Regions from separate parts of the Homo sapiens genome. Here region 1 is linked to region 2. The links are contacts of gene promoters, found by promoter capture Hi-C in blood cells and fetal thymus (Javierre and others, 2016). All regions are on one chromosome and are shown on one strand. Each heading gives the region's core, a stretch centred on a gene start or on the middle of the fragment in contact. The rest is flanking DNA. Distances are from core to core; before and after follow the strand shown.

The links. Contacts are between HindIII fragments. The CHiCAGO score rates a contact against its expected background, and 5 or more counts as called.
Region 1: a contact is called between a fragment that was not itself captured here and the fragment with the promoter of PIP4P1 in region 2, in 1 of 17 cell types (M1 macrophages). The highest score is 5.6, in M1 macrophages.

Annotation. Positions count from the first base shown.
Region 1 is chr14:21,011,369-21,017,626 of GRCh38, forward strand. NDRG2 (NDRG family member 2) reads right to left here. Exons shown (of 16, transcript NM_001320329.2): 16 at 5,404-6,258. The coding sequence ends at 6,228. Among named protein-coding and RNA genes, the nearest start is that of MIR6717, 8.9 kb to the right of the region's middle. The HindIII fragment of the contact is 1,061 bases long and covers 4,479-5,539 here.
Region 2 is chr14:20,458,015-20,464,317 of GRCh38, forward strand. PIP4P1 (phosphatidylinositol-4,5-bisphosphate 4-phosphatase 1) reads right to left here and starts at 3,420. Exons shown (of 7, transcript NM_144568.4): 1 at 3,170-3,420; 2 at 2,641-2,831; 3 at 2,178-2,284; 4 at 1,614-1,719; 5 at 1,374-1,426; 6 at 1,192-1,282; 7 at 1-688. The coding sequence starts at 3,311. The coding sequence ends at 545. RefSeq lists enhancers at 2,740-3,706, 3,635-3,704, 3,707-4,672, 4,005-4,084 and silencers at 2,875-3,044, 3,105-3,514. The HindIII fragment of the contact is 6,669 bases long and covers 1-3,986 here.

The sequences.
Region 1 (6,258 bases), core at 3,759-6,258, 550 kb after region 2:
GAAAAAATTTACTCTCCTACTCTTTGATCTCCTGCCAAACCCAAACAGAAGCCAGAGGACAAAAATCTCTGTTGGTGCATTGCAGCCAGGTAAGCCTCATGGGGCACAGAGCATAATACCCAGATGTAAAGGGGCAAGCAGGTGTTCCACATACCATCCATTCTCTGCTACTTTCAACTTGAGTGATCTTGCTAGGACTTTGGGAGGGGTGAATTGAAAGGTACAAATGTATGTGAAAGCTAGAGAGCTATTTCTAGTACAGAGGATTTGTATGGCTGCAGAAAGGAGACTTAAGGAGAAGTACATTAGACTGTTGGAGCTCCTCACCATGTTCTGGGTCTCTACCGGCATTTGAGGTAAATGAGGTAGAGCTTGGGATATGTCAGGCATAGGTGGATGAGTCCTGAACTTTCTGCCTCCTTCTATCCCAGGAGCCCTTGGATTCCTGCTTTAGTCTCCTCTGTCCTCAGCCATCAATGCTTTCTTTCCTTTCCATGGCTATTTCCTTTCCTTTTTCCAAAATTCTTACCAACCAGGAACAGAACCATCTTTAGTTTGAACCATATTGTTTCAAGAGCTAGAATAAAACTAGAGAATGGCTCATGTAGAGAATATCAGGGAGAACATCAGGACTAGGAAACTGAAATAACCTTTTGATTGTTTTCAGAAGATATGAATTCCCAGCAAGGAGCCAGAGAGGGTTATACGGAAGCAGAAGATGAATGTGATTTCTGAATGAGATTAAAACAAGAAAGGCTGGAATAAGAACAGGCATAAGAACCCTAGGACAGGAAGGAGAGCCGAGATGCCCAGGGCATGGTGACTGCAAACCTGATTCAGGAGTAAGCCTTGATTCACTCAGCCCTAAGAGATAGCTTATAACAAATGGTAACTAGAATGGTGAGAGCTGAAAAAATAAAAAAAGAAGGAAAAGGCGAGGCACAGTGGCACACGCCTGTAATCCCAGCACTTTGGGAGGCCAAGGCAGGCGTGTCGCTTGAGCTCAGGAGTTCAACACCAGCCCAGGCAATGTGGCAAAACCCCATCTCTACAAAAAAAAATAAAAAATATATATATACACACAAAAAATACAAAAAACTAGCTGGGTATGGTGGTGCACACCTGTAGTCCCAGCTACTTGGGAGGCTGAGGTGAGAGGATTGTTTGAGCCTGGGAGACGGAGGTTGCAATGAGCTGAGATTGCACCACTGCACTCCAGTCTGGGCAACAGAGTGAGGCTCTGTCTCCAAAAAAAAAAAATCAGAGGAAGGACGTGCAGGATGGGAAAAGGGATGAGGGAAAACCAATTGGAATAGTCAGGAGAGGATTTATGTAGAGCATTCTCAAGTCTCCCCAATCCCTGTCCTCTGTCCCTACCCCTCATTCTCCACTCCACACATGTACTTTGTATATACTTAAAGAGGAAGAATATAGAACAACGATACCTCCAACTGCCCTCCTAGAGCCAGCATTCCATTTCTGCCACCAGTACATTTTTCTCTAAAGTAACCCTTTGGAACTCATCTTTCCTTTGCTTTCAAGCTGAGGGTTTGATTTGAATATTGCAGTTGTAGGATGACAATGTGTAAAGAAAGAGAGATGGGGAATAGCATCAGAGAGAAACCAGAGTTTTGGGAGTAGTGTGGGAGGTCAGTCAGAGATCAACACACAAGGACAAGACACATCCAGGAACAAAAACCAAAGAGCTCCAGACAAACTCTTACAAGAGTTTGTGCCACTTCACCTCACCCTGAAGGACAATTTTAGAATGTCTTGCCACCCTCACTGCAAGAAACAGTCCCTTGCTCCTGCCTCTGGTCTGATAAGGTACAAGGAACAGCTGCCAGAGTGTGAGTGGGTTTGTATGTGTGAGTGTGACAACCAGCCAGACACCCTCACGTTCCCCCTGACTGACCTGAGCGGGGAGCCCATTGCCACTAGCAAGGGGGAAGCCAAAGAGGTGCAGAGAGGAATGACACCTGAAACCCCAGGCACCAGTGTGGGAATGCTTATAAAATGCTGGTTGTTGATTTTTAAAAATTTTAAATTGTGTTCTTTGTTACTGTCTTCACAGTTGTTGAATGTCAAGTACACAGGACATTCAACTTTTACTATGTATTTATCCAATTAGTGGGAAATTCTGATGTTAGTGAGGAGAGAGGGTACAAACAAATGACATTGCTCTGGGCACTATTTGCCCTCACCATACCCTGGCCTCTAGTCAGAACTGACTCTCACTTTCTAGTTAGTCCTAAAATTGCTCTAGAAAGGTGGTGTCTCCCAGCCAGGCACAGTGGCTCATGCCTGTAATCCCAGCACTTTGAGAGGCTGAGGCGGGCGGATCACTTGAACTCAGGAGTTTGAGACTAGCTTGGACAACATGGGGAAAACCTGTCTCTACCAAAAAAATAAATAAATACACACACACACACACATATATAGACACATATATTTACACTATATATACATATATACACATATATATACATAAATACACATCTATATATACACACACAAAAATATATATATTTATATATACACAAAAAGCTAGCTGGGCATGGTGGCGCACACCTGTGGTCCCAGCTACTCAGGAGGCTGAGATTGGAGAATTGCTTGAGCCCAGGAGGCAGATGTTGCACTGAGCAGAGATTGCACCACTGCACTCCAGCCTGGGTGACAGAGTGAGACCCTATCTGAAAAAAAACAAAGAGAAGAAAGAAGAAAAAGAAAAGAAAGAGATAAAGAGAGAAAGAAAGGAAGGAAGGAAGACAGAGAAAGAAAGAGAGAAGGAAAGAAAGAAGAAAAAGAAGGAAAGAAGAAAGAGAAAGAAAGAAAAAGAAAAGAAAGAAGAAAAAAAGAAAGAAGAAAGAAAGAAAGAAAGAAAGAAAGAAAGAAAGAAAGAAAGAAAGAAAGAAGGAAAGAAAGAAGAAAGAGAAGGAAAAAGAGGAAGGAAGGTGGTGTCTCCCACTCCAGTATTTTCCCTTACCATTCATATACTCTCTTATGGCTAACATCCATCCCTCCTACTGCAGGTTCAGTGTACCATCAGAGACTCACCCTTTAAAATCTCTTCGTGAAATCCAGAATTTTCAAGCTGAAACCATAAGGCTCTTTTCACTCTGTTCCGGTTTTACTCTCTTTCCCATTGAATCTTCTCTTAGCTGTCTTGGGATTTTGTCCCTAAAGTCTGGGAAGTACTCACGTTCCTTGACAATAAGGGGAAGAGAGAAACAGGGGTCCTAAACCTGAAGCAGAGACAAAAAGTAGGGAGTCTGTGGTTCTGCTTCTGTAAAATCACCTCTCCTCTCCTCTGAGAGGAGACCAGCTCTGATCTTGAAAATTTTGAAAATGGTCAAGATCAATGGCCAACCATGATATTAGGACCTCCTTCCTATAGAGCTACTACACAGAACCACAAAGCACAATGGAGCTGTAAGACCGAGGAAACACCAAGGGACCTGGGAACTGGGGAAAGTTATTAAGAACCATGTCAACCACAAGGGGGCACTGTGACCCCATGGGCTAAACTGGAATGTTTAGCTGATTGACATGGAAATGGGACATGGAATATGCTCTTGATTCTTGAGCTTTTCGTCGCTCTCCAACAGAGTAGAGAGGTCAGTCAAGGACAAAACCCCCACCCCACGACTAGCTCCCAGCAGAGGGCATCTTTCTCTCTACCAAACTCAGATTTCTTATGCAGAGACATCTATGGGAAAGACACACAGTCATCACCCATTTGACACACCCACCTACATGATAGATGTGTATGCACACACTCACCTATCTACACATACATGTAATGTGCTCCCATTTGTAGAGATTGCCCTGCTGACAGTGTTATCTATGTAGGCAGATATGCAGAAAAGACTTGCCTTCCCATCCATAATACACAACAGCAGCTATTGCCAGTAAAGATTGATGCTGGTTATAGGTTTTTGCCTTTTCCTTGTGTTTTTCCGAGAAGCTAGTTGGTCCCCACTGATTCCAATTATGCCGCTTCTTTTCTTCAGTGTGGTGCTTCGCACTCTGCTGCCTGCCCTGCGTGTGGTCACCCAACACCCTCAGCATCCAATAGCGAGCTCCATAACCCTGTTTGTTACCCAATACCTCCGCTTCCCCTTCTGACCCTGGCCTACCACATTTAAAATAGACCCAGTTCTATGAAGGACAGTGATGAAATGCTCAAGAATCAAGGGCATATTCCATATCCTATTTCCATGTCAATCAGTGTGTCAGCACCAGACATCAAGTGCATTAGTCCTCAGCTCAGTTTCATTGAGGAAAGGGTATAATTGCCTGTGGAGTTTCTGTAAAGCAATCTAGCAAAAGACCTTGTAATAGTCCATCACAGTAGTGTTGTCAATAATGCTACAAGGTGCCTCCTCATTTTTACTTCTTGTGCCTCAAGACCCTAAGAATCAGCCTGCAACAGCTGCAAAATAAGAATTCCTCTTCATTGTTCATAGTTGTGAAAAAGCTTCCTAATAAACCACAAACATAGACTTAATTAGCTCCCAGATCCCTTGGATTCCATGAGGGAAGAGGAATTCTCAAGATAAATCCTCCTTTTTGCTGCACCCCTCCTGAAAGAGTCTTCAGATCAGAATGAACTATGAGCAGCCCACCCCTTACAGTTAAGTTCATGCACCCTGGTCTACTGATTGCACTAAAACATCCAAAATGGAATCTAGGTGACCCCCTAGGGAGGATCCTACAGGAAGGTGGGTCTCAAGATATCCTTGGGCACTTCTGTCATCAGTCTTCTTCAATTTTTTTTTTTTTTTTTTTTGAGATGGAGTCTCACTCTGTCGCCCAGGCTGGAGTGCAGTGGTGTGACCGTGGCTCACTGCAACCTCCACCTCCTGGGCTCAAGTGATCCTCCCACCTCAGCCTCCCTAGTAGCTGGGACTACAGGTGTGCACCATCAAGCCCAGCTAATTTTTGTATTTTTTGCAGAGACGGGGTTTCACCATGTTCCCCAGGCTGGTCACAAACTTCTGAGCTCAAGTGGTCTGCCCACCTCAGCTTCTCAAGTGTGTTGGGATCACAGATGCGAGCCACCTTGCCCAGCCTCTTCAATTCTTTCTTAAAGGTGGTGATGTTGGTGGTATCTCTGAAATCCTGTGGCCTTTCTCAGTTACCCATAGTTGATAAGGAAGTCTCCTAAGATCTAAATGGTTCCTCTCTCCCAGGCTTAAAAATACTACAATATCAAGGCAACACCGTTGTATTGGAAAAGAGCCAGTTTCTATGTGGTCATATTTTGTGAAGTGCCTATGCCACAAAGGCCCTCTCCCAGGGTTTATATCACTTTGAGAAGAGAATATGAGACGTGGACAGGGAGAAGATAGGAAGAGGAGCATGATGCAGGCACACCTAGACAAAGAATAATAACGGTACTCAGATTCCTCTACAGTTTATTGTTATAGCAGAAGTTGTGGGAGACGGGAGGGCACCCTCCACACATACTACAGTGTGGTCAGAGCCCCAGGGTAGCCCTTTCCACCCTATGCCAAGCCCCAAGCAGCCCAGCCCAAGCTTAGCTCCCTCCCCAGTCCCACTCTAGATGCACACTGAGCTACCAAAGTTAGTGCAGCCAAACGGCCCCAGGCCCCTTCCTGTTGCCCCAGCACCAATCCTTCCCCACACTCGTTCACTGCCCGCCAACTCCCATTCCAACTTCCTTTTTACACTGGATGTTTCTATCACATCCTGAGGACCACTAACCCACCAGCAAGTCTCCCCCTGACACACATTCACGTAGGTCCATACCCTTCAGAGTCCTAAAGGGTTAATGAGAAGCCACCTCAGCTTTGGTGAATGGAGCCCCAGCCCCAAATCCCCTCCCCTTGCAAATATGGGACAAGTAGGGAGAGTCTGATGGAGGCACCAGGACAACTACAACAACCTCTTACCCCTCAGCTATAGACACCTAGATCAGGACAGAGGATGCATATGCCCTCTCCACCTTAACATCAAAATGGGGGAGGAGGAGAATTTAGGGGTCTGGGTCCCTAAGAGATATTAGGACATCTCTTCCAGGAGCTGGGGGGAATCACGGGTTAAAGGTCAAGGTTAGGGTAGCAATCAAAGATCAAGGTCATCTCCCCGCATGATCTGCCCTTTTTCCCTTGCTTACGGTGGCCCAATGCCCCTTCAGCACCTCCCAGGTTAGCTCTGGGGGAGGTGAGGGCTGGGTCCCACTCTAGGGCAACAAGGGCCATTCAACAGGAGACCTCCATGGTGTGCCCCGGG
Region 2 (6,303 bases), core at 2,170-4,669:
CCCACATTAAATAGTTATATACACATCAGTTCCTGTGGTTCTGTACAGAGCAGCGGCTGACCCCACCCCCACAGGACACAATGTGGGGAGAGGAGACTGAGGGTACTGAGGCCAGAGCCAACCTCTGGTGAAGTGCAATAGCAGCAGCAAAGTCCTAATGGTGCACAAGAGGGAGGGGAACCCCCAGGGCTACCCACCCCCACCCTGCCCTGGAATGTGTAAGGGACAGGAATGGCTCTCAGGGAGCACACAGGAAGGACAAGGCTGGAACCGTCTTCAGGGCCCAGTTTTAAGGGCAACGTTTTGCCTACTTCACCCTAGACACAGCAACCCTTGGAGGAAAGCAGATGGTCAGCAGTGCTCTTATCTGCCCCTCCAAACCTAAGTGAGGGCCTGGTTCCTTCCTACCTCTCCCCAGGGAAAAGGAAGGCAGCTGCTTGGCTTCCTTCTAGAAGCCCCGGGAGCCTTTAACTACCCCAGCTCCCTTCGTAGTGTCACTGTCCCCACCAGGGAGGGGCCAGGCACAGTCTGTGGGTCATCAGGCTCAGGAGAAGTTCTGGACAGGGTGGCTGACCTTCATACAGGCCCAATAAAGAGCCCGGCCCAAACACAGCACAGCCAACAGGATGACAAATGCCCAGGCTGCATAGATGCCTCCATATCGCCGTGCATGCTTCCATGTGCCAAACTGATGAAGATAAGGAGGGAGAAGAAAAGAAAGATGGGGTTAATGTTGGTCTCCACTACCTCCTATTAGTTCTAAGAACAGTAATAACTCACGCTTCAGTCCTTGTTCCTTATCCACATGTAGCCACCCTCAGGGACCTTCTTAAAGGCAGAGCTGATCAGCTTCCTTCCCTTAGGCGTAACATACTCATCCCATCCCACACTGTATCTCAGTTTTTCTTAATATCTGACAACTGAGCCAGGTTTGAAAAATAGCAACTCTTAAATTAAGAATTTCACTGTCCTATCCTCATCCTACAGAGAAAGGAAGGCTGTTTTTCACTCTTGTAGTAGTAATAAAGTCTGTTTGATCAGCCACTTTGCACTTTAGCTCATCCATATCTTAAAACAAAACAAACTAGTCCCCCAAGTTTCTTCCACTTTTTTTTAGGGTAGCAGTTTCCCAAATCTTAGCCTATGGAGATGAGGCTGCAGAATGAAAGAGGTTGGGGCAAGGGTACTCACGGCAAGGCCAGTGGCAGTGACTGCCAAAAGCAAGCCAAGCAAGAAGCAGCAGATACATCTCTTACGTGGGTATCTGCGCCCAATAGATGACCTGTGGGGAGGCAAATAGAAATGGATGCTTTCTATGGCCTTGTAGTTTTTACTCCATACATCAATTACCAGCTCAATCCCTAATCACTTACACTTTCCTGCAGTGAGGACAACGTGCCAAAGTGCGGTCTGTGAACTCTGTCCACTATGGAGAAAGAAAACAAAAATAATAGCACAAGCAGGGTCTCCCTCAATGAGAACCTTGGGGTGGGGATGCAGAACATGTTCCCATAGGACAGACCTTTCAGGGGTCATTACCATTACTCTAAGAAATATACTCGAAATGACTCTTAGTCTCCTTTCCCCTCCCCTTCCCAATACCCCTTCCTCACCAGAAAAGTATTCTTGCAATGTCCACAGATAACCCTGACACCCATGGGTTGGGGTTCTGGACTCAGAGGTCCGGGATGCACAGGCCCCAGGTTGATGATTCTTTTGCTATACAAAAGAAAAAGACTTGTATTTTCAAACTTGTGTTTGAAAAATTTTTAATCCTAAAAATCTTCACAGTCCCTGTTCCACATCCCCCACTCCCTGTCTATTAAGTCACTCGACTTCTCTGTACTTAAGATACTCTGTCCCCCAACTGTATACCCTCAAGAATCCTTGAGAAAGAAAGAGCACTGTTTAAACTTCAGGTCCCCAATTCCCCTCCGACCTCAGGATAACACACCCAGTCCCCAAGGCTCTCTATTCTCCGAAACGACATCATTTCATCTCAATATTTTTATTGAGAAACGAGAAAGACAGCTATAACATTCCTGAGGCACATGCTTCAAAGCCTTTTCTCCTAAATAAACACTAGGCTCTCTCACCTTTACATTCTCTGTATACGCTCATCCTTTTTTGACTTTCCAGTTCCCCACTTAGGCCCTTCCCCACCTTATGCCTCTTACCAGTAGGGCCGAGGGCATGCAATCCGTTGGGATGTCACTTTGCAGATAAGGAGACAGTTACAGGGGCATCGAACATATTTTTTCCCTGGGGGTGCATTCTTGATTGGCTAGAGAATAATAGGGTCATCAGCAAGCAAACCTCTAATCCCAATCCCCTCCACTTCCCTCCAAAAACACTTTATGAGATCAGAAAAATAAGGTGCTAACCAGGAAGGAGAAATAAAAGAAAGACTATATCATGAGATTTGCAAATAGGAACTAGGCTAGGTGTAAAAGTGAGAGAAAGTGAACATTAGCTTTGGTGAGTGGCTTCTGGGGAAATGGCTGTGTGAGACACCTGGAACTGAAACCTGGGTATCATCAAAAGCACTTGGCTAATAGCCGGAAGGTCAGGGTCTAGAACCAAGACATCAGAAAGAGGATCCAGGAAACAGGGCCCATTTCATAGATATGTGTAACTCACGGTGGCTTCATTGCAGACACCACATTTGACTACATGCTGATGCATCTTGCCTTCCACGTTGATGAGAGATTGGCAGACTCGGCAGGTGATCATAGGGGCACTCCCACTGTCCGGGCTAGTTAAGGGTGAATAGGGGGGTGGGTCCTCCCCAGGCAACACGGCTGGATGCCCCTCGGGAAACGGGGGAAATGCTGGAGAGGAAGCAAATAGAAGGGCTGGGATCACTTACACCCCCACTGATGCTCCACGGTGGTAGGGAAGTCCTTCTGATCTTCAACCCTCTGACCAAGCTCGGAGGGCTTCTCATAATTGGCACTTCTATCAGGTTGCTCAGAACCCCCTTCCGTCCCTAGGCTGTGGTCGCGATTACGGAGGGAAGGAAGCCTCGCCCAGTCACAGGTGCAGCAGTCCCGCACCTGGCGACTGGGACCCGCCTCCGCCCTCGGTCCCGCCCCCTCCCCGGCTTTCAGAGTACCCCGGGGAGCACCTCGGACCCGCCCCGGCTTACCCTGGGGCGGGGCATGTTTACCGGCTCCGTACGGTGGTGCGGAGGGGGTCAGGCCTCCCCCGGGCCCAGCCCCACTCCCGCCGGGCCCCACTAAACCGTTGCCGCCCGCGCCACCGTCGATGGGCTCAGACAGCAGCGGGGAACGCTCTCCATCTGCCGCCATGGCCGCCACCGCCGCCTCCCGCTCAGGTCGGCGATCCGGCTCCCTTCGCCTCTGCCGTCGCCGCAGCCACCGCCACCGCCGCCACCGCCACCGCCGCTACCGGGTCCCCAGGGCGCCTGCGCGCCGCGCGCCCAGCTCACTCCGCAACCAGTGGCCTGCCCCGCCCCGTTCCGTCTAGCAGCACGTGATAGGCTATCCCCGCCCGGGTCATGCTATTATTCGCGTAGATAAACCAATTCCTGGTCCTGTGAAGGCAGCTCTCCTTTTCCATTGGGGAGCGACGCACAAACGTCAACTGTCACATGACCTGCCAGATGCTGCTGGGCTTGCAAAACCTGCACGTGACTAGAGGTTCTGCAAGCTATTGGGAGCGACGCCCATCGCGCTACCTCCAGACCAGGAGGTAGGGCTAGGCTGCGTCTGCTCAACTGGTCACGTGTTTCTGGAAGCTGCACGGTCCCTGTTGCTCTGCTCCTCATTGGTTCAAAGACACCACTAAAACACTTTTCTCCGGCTTTGCGTTGTAGCTGGTTTCCTATTGGCTGGTGACTTTACTTCTTTCGTCCTGTGATCCTAGCGGCGCAACTGCATTGGCCCGAACTTAGCGCCAGAACATGGGGGGCGTGGCTTATGCATTTTAAAGGAGGCTGGGCGGGTGCAATAAAGGAGTGCGGAAGCTTGGGATCTTCTGAGCGGGGAGAAAATGGACGGTGGGGAACAGTAGACAAAGTTAGCTGTTCTACTCAAAGAAGTACCTTTAAAAAGTCAGAGTAATGAGGTACCAGAAGGAAATGGATTAAAAAGTTAAGATTATCACTCCAGCCTTTGTCGCTAGAGTCACTTTCAGGACAGGACACAAGACTGGGTTTTCCTGGAAGCTGTCCTTACAGAGCCCCGTCTTTCCCCATTGCTGATCAAATTGTTAAATTATCTTTTCATTAGTGTCTCCACTACTAGAAGATTTCATCGTTTTACTAAAAAAAAAAAAAAAAAAATTCAATAGAGATGGGGTCTTGCCTATGCTGGACTCAAACTCCTGAGTTTGATCTCCTGCCTAAGCCTTCCCAGTAGCTGGGACTACAGGGACAAGCCACCGTGCCTTTACTCAGTTTTATGACCACCAACCTTTAACATACGCACAAGTTTGTAGATTGGATTAATCAAATACAAGGTTATTTTCGTCACCTTATTTGACAGATGGGACAGTCTTTAGGCCTGTCTCAACTTTGCTTCCAGCAAAGGGGCAGTGCCTCCTCCCCTACCTGAAGTCTCGTGTGGTCTTTATGGGCGCCTGAACCACACCTGGATTTTTTCCCAAGTCATAGCCCAAACTGGGACTGCTTTAAATATGGGAAGCAACAAGGAATTGATAAAAACAATAAACCCCGAGGAGGTCCATTATCAGTTTGGCTAGCAGACTCTCCACTAAGAAAGGAAGTGCATCAAAGAAAGTACAGCCAGCCCCAAATATGTAATAACAAAGGAACTGCAGATGTCCCAGCACTTGGCTGCTACAGGGGCTGGAGACTTCACCTAGGTCCTGATTTTTTTAGACAGGGTTTTCTCAGGCCAACTTCTACTTGGAAGCTAGTAACCTTCGACCAGTTAGATAAGAGCCCCTAACAGACACTTAAAGAACTAAGGAAGCTCCAGATACAAAATAGGGAAGAGGTTGTAGCTCCATAGAGGGAGGCCAGTCTGCTGCTTTTTCTGCTGTTTGTGGCACACAGATGCTCAAGCATTGTCTGGGGTTGGAGTAGGATCCATTATTTGCGCCCTAGTTACACATATATTCCAAAAACTGTCCTAAAAATATTTTTTAAATATCTACACTTTGTGAAAGACACTCCTTAAAAAAGCTTACACTCTGGGTAGGGAGACAGAATAGTGTAAACATTGACAGTATAACATATCAGGTCAGGAGTGGTGGCTCATGCCTGTAATCCCGGTGTTTTGGGAGGCTGAGGTGGAGGATTGCTTGAGCCCAGGAGTTCAAGGTTACAATGAGCCATGATCTAAACCTGGGCAACAGAGCAAGATCGTGTCTCAAAAAAAAAAAAAAAAAAAAGAAAATCAGCACTAGTATTTTATTACATGGAAAAATATCAATACTAGAAATTCATGATACAGCACATGCTTCATAATAAAAGAATTAAACAATGTAATTCAAGTTCAAGAAAAGAAGAGATCACTTCTAGCTAGAGCAGCCAGAGAAAACTTCTAAAACATAAAGAAAAATGAGTATTGTGCATGGATAACTAGGATCTGAGCTCTGTGTTGTTGAGTAGATCAATAGGCAGAAAAATGCAAAAAGTAATCATAATATTTGGAACTTGCTCACAGTTAATAAAGCATTTTTTTTTTTGAGACAGAGTCTCACTCTGTCGCCAGGCTGGAGTGCAGTGGTGTGATCTCTGCCCACCTCCCGGGATCAAGCGATTCTCCTGCCTCAGCCTCCCGAGTAGTTGGGATTACAAGTGTGTGCCACCACACCCAGCTAATTTTTGTATTTTTAGTAGAGATGGGGTTTCACCATGTTGGCCAGGATGGTCTCAATCACTTGAACTCGTGATTCACCCGCCTCGGCCTCCCAAAGTGCTGGGATTACAGGCGTGAGCCACTGTGCCCGGCCAATAAAGCACATTCATAGTTATATTCATTTTATTTCAGAACCCACTGTGATGTGGACAGGGAAGGCAAGACTATATCTTTATTTTACAGATGTGGAAACTGAGGCTGTGTAAACTGGAGTCATTTAAGCTAAGTGACAGATTGAAATGGAGCTCTAAATCCCCGTCTTCTGACTTATGATCTAATATTTTACATTCAAATAATTTGATAGGTAGATTGAAAGGGACAGAAGCACAGAAGTGGCAGAGAGAAGGTGCTTGGGATGAGCCCCCTTTTATGCTAAATGCCTGGAACATAGAAGCTGCTTGATAGATGGCTCTCTAATTAATTAATGAAGTAACTTAAGCCCCATCTTGGGATA